Regions from separate parts of the Homo sapiens genome. Here region 2 is linked to region 1. The links are contacts of gene promoters, found by promoter capture Hi-C in blood cells and fetal thymus (Javierre and others, 2016). All regions are on one chromosome and are shown on one strand. The core of a region is centred on a gene start or on the middle of the fragment in contact, and the rest is flanking DNA. Distances in the headings are between cores, read along the strand shown. Region 1 holds the start of RGS5-AS1 (RGS5 antisense RNA 1). Region 2 has its middle 30 kb from the start of CCDC190.

What was found. The method cuts DNA at HindIII sites, captures the fragments that hold promoters and counts their contacts. A CHiCAGO score of 5 or more calls a contact.
Region 2: a fragment that was not itself captured here is called in contact with the fragment with the promoter of RGS5-AS1 in region 1 in 5 of 17 cell types (M2 macrophages, monocytes, endothelial precursors and 2 more); the score reaches 16.9 in M2 macrophages.

Annotation. Positions count from the first base shown.
Region 1 is chr1:163,160,287-163,162,986 of GRCh38, reverse strand. It overlaps RGS5-AS1 (RGS5 antisense RNA 1), which reads right to left and starts at 1,312. Exons shown (of 4, transcript NR_110699.1): 1 at 1,146-1,312; 2 at 111-201. RGS5 (regulator of G protein signaling 5) reads left to right here. Exons shown (of 5, transcript NM_003617.4): 3 at 1,011-1,072. The HindIII fragment of the contact is 14,512 bases long and covers 1-2,354 here.
Region 2 is chr1:162,889,391-162,892,425 of GRCh38, reverse strand. No RefSeq gene overlaps it. Among named protein-coding and RNA genes, the nearest start is that of CCDC190, 30 kb to the right of the region's middle. The HindIII fragment of the contact is 2,416 bases long and covers 486-2,901 here.

The sequences.
Region 1 (2,700 bases), core at 63-2,562:
AGTTGATAAACAAATTAAGAGCTAAGGAAATTCCAGTTTAGGAAAAACTGGCCTTAATATTCTAGTAAATGCTTTGTCAGTCTGTTTTGATTTGGCAACGAAGAACTCACATCATAATGCAAGAGTTCGAGCTGGGTGAGCCGAAGAGTGTGCAGTCAGCCATTTTTCCCGGACAATATCAGCTCCACTTGACACATCCTGCTGTGAGAGAAAAATTGGTGGTTGAGATGAAATAGCTTCAGGGTTTCTGCATATATAAATGTTAAAATAGAAACAGCCTAAGGAGAAATTATATGTTGGCTATAACCTTCTCCTTTTGAGTCAGCATCTCAAGCATTTGTGTATAACATTCCTGTTCAGGATATATTAACCACTCTTTTTTTTTTTAAATTAGAAAGAGTAAATCTTTAAAAAAAAGTCTGATCCTGTTATAAGTGGGTAGGAAAAATGCGCCTACGTTTTTAACATGTAAATTTGCTATGATCACAATCCCAACATAAGGAAAGCATTATACACTCACATCTTCCACTATCCTTAATTAGACAGCTTTGGGATGTGGATGTGGAACCCCAATGCCCTCTGCTGATTCAGTTAGGTGGTTAACATGCAGTATTGGTGAGGCAGAGAACAGGAGTTCAATCTCTGTAATGGGACAACTGGATTTCATGAAGTTATATTTGGAAAAAAGACCACAGTTGGAACAACTTTCATGGGATACATAAGACTATCAAGACACAGCTTAATGTCAAACGAACTCTACTTTTAAAAAGGGAAAGACCTAACCAAAATGTTCAAAAAAGATGAAGATATGCAATAAAGATGTATGAAAGCAAACCCAGCTCATCAAACCCAATTGTTAGAGAGAAAATAACTTAAACTTCCTTGTCCTGAGGATAGACCAGCAGTCATATCATTTCCATCTAAGAGAAACAGGAAGTAGTTATTGCTGGTACATGTGGTTCAATGCCTACTTACGCCATACCCCTTTTCTCTCCTTATTATTGATGTAGAACCTCGCTGGACGAGGCCCTGCAGTGGCGTGATTCCCTGGACAAACTCCTGCAGAACAACTGTAAGTTTCCATTGTTTGTTTTTTTAAATAAAGGTCAGGTTAGAGACAGAAACAAAAAACATCTTTGTATTACCTGTGTTCTTCTTCCCCAATGTTGACATTTCTTCAATTTTTGAAGGTGATATCAATAAGGGAAGGGGGCTGCAGGTATGTGATTATCCAGTTCACAAGAAAAGGAGGGTCTGTGGCACTATGAGGGAATGTGAACATAAGGTGTTCTGAAGACTCATGATTGCAGTTGTGTTCCCATCTGTCCTGCTTACTTGCATGAGCCAGAACAAGTGGCTTGACCTCCTCAACATTCTCATCAGTAAAATAGAGAAATTACATTTCCTGACTTAGCCTCATAATAAATTGATAAAGATCAGATATAGCAGCATAAAGATCGCTAACAAGTCATGAGTAGTACATCCTGGTTCAAACTATTATACTGTCAACTGCTCTTGTGACCTGACATGGGTTGTTATCTCCCCCAGCCTCCGTTTCCTCTTCTGGCACCATGCCTTTTACATCTTAATTCAAGAAATGACAAAGGTGCTGATCAGTGCAGACTCTTTTCCAAGCTAATACCAGTGCATCAATAAGCACTAGGTGCATTTCCCCAATCCAAAATCCTTACTGATTCCCATGGCTTACAGTACCAAGTTCAAATTTCTGATGTTCAAGATCACCATAACTATATGGCCGGTCTGCAGGCAAATTGAACAGTTCTCTGTTCCATATAGGATTTCTACATATAATCCCCTTGGCTGGAATATCTTTTACTCATATCTCTCTCTCTTGAAATTCTCCCTCTCCTATAATAGATAATTCAAATAAGAAATGCCTAGTGTTCCTTGACCATCCAGAACAATTTATCCACCCTCTGAAATTCCAAAGTCATTTGTCTGCACATCTTTTATTCTACTTAATACTTGCTGCCTTATGTTCTGTTCATAGTTGGCTCACTTCTATGATAGGTTATAAACTCACAAACGGGCAAGAATTAGTCTTTTTCATGTAGATAATTTCAAAACAGGAAGTATATAGTATCGGGAAAACAAATATTTGTTGAATAATTCACTCTAAAAGTATGAGTCAATTTAAAATACCCTACCTATATTTCTCCATCTTTATAACAAGAATGGAATATGAAACTTTGTCACATGCTTTGCAAAGATAAGGATTTACAAAATATTTCTCACAAGACCATTATGATTAATGGGCACAGAGTAGATGACAAAGAATATATGTTGAATTGTATATGAACATTCCTTATGTCTTGCTTTTGGTGTCATAAGCTTCTGCTTACCTGCAATAGAATTAATCTTTTATTTTTGGAGACAGAACCCCACAGTCTCTAATTTGGAACTTTCTCTAGCTTATTCATTTCTGATTCTCTCTCTTTTTTTCTTGTGCTAAACAAAGTACCCTGCCCTGACACATGTAAGATGTTTGGTGAATAGTTATGTAGTGAATGAGTGAATGAACTAAATTCATTTTGCTTCTTGGACCTAGAAATTCCACAAGGTCAACTAGTAGAATAATATTTATGTTTATTAATGGACTTATTGTCTTGCCTTAGTGGTTTCTGGGCCAATAGCAGATTGACAGATGACCTATTGATAAATTATGAATACTAGTACTCT
Region 2 (3,035 bases), core at 444-2,943, 270 kb after region 1:
ATAGGAGTTTAAAAAAATATTGAGGCAGTTAGTGAGGGTACAGGAGTCCTCAGTAATGTTTCTCTTTTTATAAAAAAGCAGCCCCCAAATCATTTCTTTTCTAACAAAAAGCAGCCTAGGCTGGGTGCAGTGGCTCATGCCTGTAATCCCAGAACTTTGGGTTGCTGAAGTGGGTGGATTACCTGACGTCAGGAGTTCAAGACCAGCCTGGCCAACATGGTGAAACCCCGTCTCTACCAAAAATACAAAAAATTAACCGGGCTTAGTGGTGGGTGCCTGTAATCCCAGCTACTCAGGAGGCTGAGGCAGGAGTATCACTTGAACCCAGGAGGCAGAGGTTGCAGTGAGCTGAGATCGCACCATTGCACTCCAGCCTTCCAGCCTGGGTGACAAGAGTGAAGCTCCATCTCAAAAAAAAAAAAAAAAAAAAAAAAAAAGCAGCCTAAAAAATCAAGCTGCAAGCATAGATAAGCAAGCTAAAAGCTTGTAGCTATGCCAATAGAAAATGGATACCTGGAAGCCAGGTATGTTTAACATAGAGATTTTCTCTACCCTTTTCTTTGTAGCCACATGTACAGGTGTCGTGGTGCCAGCCAGGTAAAGACTTCATTTGCATAGTAAAAGATTAGGGTGGGATAGCCATCCCCTTCTCTGGCTATGTAAACAGCACACCTGGTCCAACCAATCCACTATGCCCTGTGTAAATCAAACACCACCTCCTCAAGCTCCTCTATAAAACCAACCGCATCTTGCCCCAAACCCTGAAACCCACTTGGGTCCCCTTCACCTGCACAAGGAAGCTCTCTCTTCTTTCTTTAGCCTATTAAACTTTCCGCTCTTAAGCCTACTCCTGGTGTATCTGTCTTCCACCTTCTTAGTACAAGACAATGAACCTCAAATATTTCCCCAGAAAAATGATGCCGCTTCAGGAAAACTAGAAGGAATGACGGTGACAAGGAGAAGACATGCCATAGAGTTTTTTACTCTCTGTTTCAATAAACACCCCCTATTATTTAACGTTGAATATGTATGTAACAGAGGATTCTGTACCTGCCGCTGTCCTGTTCCTTTTGTGTCCTTTTATCCCCTTTTCCTCCAGCTGTCTAAGGTTAGAGTATTACCTTTGTGTGGAAATTTGTTGGTGGCCATGTGGCTTCACTGCTTGACATAAAAAGCCATGTTTGCTTTTTTTTTAATCTTACTAAGCAAAAATAAACATCTCACCCTTTTGGATAAAAAGACTCTGTGACTCTTTCAATCACTCAGGCATTGTGCTAGTGTGAACTCATCATGGGCCCAAGTTTCATGGAGCTGCAGTCGGGTGTTGCATTCCATTCCCACTCTTTCCAAAAGTGTTCAACCTCTCTGTGCCTCAGTTACTTCTGTAAAATAGAAATAAAGGCCGGTGCGGTGGCTCATGCCTGCAATCCCAGCACTCTGGGAGGCCAAGTTGGGTGGATCACAAGGTCAAGAGATCGAGACCATCCTGTCCAACATGGTGAAACCCCCTTGCTACTAAAAATGCAAAAGTTAGTTGGGCGTGGTGGCAAAGGCCTGTAATTCCAGCTACTCAGGAGGCTGAGAGGCTGAGGCAGGAGAATCGCTTGAACCCAGGAGGCAGAGGTTGCAGTGAGCCAAGATGGCGCCACTGCATTCCAGCCTGGTGACAGAGCGAGACTCCATCTCAAAAAAAAAAAAGAAAAAAAAACCAAAGAAATAAAAATATTACCTACTATAGAATATGGTAACAATTATAAGATATAATTCAGCTAAAGTGCTTATAACAGTATCTATCACATAGTAAATATGTACTAATTAAGGAAAATCCCCAATTGCCTTCCTCAGATTGCAATATTTTGGCAATTATAAGACAGTAATCTGAATGGTGCCAACAGCCCCCAGGTCTCTCAGTTGACCTGCAGCATATGCTAATACCAGGCAAATCACCTACAAAACCACCTAAGCATCCTCCAGGTACTGACCCGACAAACTCAAACTATCACCGTCTTCATGAGACATAGCCATAAGCTGAGCCTCTGCCAGCTCTCAAGCCACAGCCACTCTAAATCCTTCTGATAGTCCATTCCTCTGGGCTCCCTTCCTCTCTTGATAGCACCCTGGACCTCCCCTCTCCTTATGCCTATTCTCTTCCCTTCCCGGCTGACAGCTCTTATCATAGTTGTGTAAGTGCAGGCTGCTGAGGGAAGGAGAGAAGTTGGCTTCTCTCCCAAGGCAAACAATTAGCGAAGCATTAACTTCTCTTAATGGGCAAAGCAACATTAAGCAGATGGAAGCCCAGACCCAGGTCACTTTGCAGAGAGCCAAAGCTGTGATGGGTCTGCCAGTGTTCATATATGACCTCTAAATTGAAACTTAATTGGCCATTAATGGAATTCATCTAATTAAAAACACTTGTAATTAAGCATGAAGAAGAAAAAGAGCCTGAATTTTGGACTTGGAGAAAGCAAAACTACATTTGATATGGTCAATAAACCCATACTTGAGAGCATATTAAATTACCTCCTGTCCTCCATCATATATTGCTCACACCACATCAGAAAGCCCTCTTGGTGCCCTCCCCTCCCTGGTTTCACCATTGACAGTGGGGGCAGTAACTCCAGGGTGTCCCCTGAGAAGTAAGAAAGTAGGAATAAGGAAAACCTTTGGAAGTATAATGGAATTGATGCTATATTGGAACAGGGAAACTTTCCCCATTCGGGAACCCCAAGACATAAGGGGTCTTCCCAGATAAGAATGCAGGTTTATAAACTCATTTTTTCCTATATTTCAACATATAGCATAGTGACCTTTAAAGCAAAGGCAAAATTAAGAAAATAGATGATCAGAGATGTCAAGTCACTTGCCCAGTGCCACAGGGCAGTAAACGGCAGAGCCAAAGCTTTACAGTAATCCTGCCTTACCACTCTCATAGTGAACAGGAAAAATAAAATGAGATGAGGTATGTGAAAATACCTTGTAAACTATCAAGCATATAACCAGTAGATCTAATTTTACCTTCTTGGCATGAAACAACG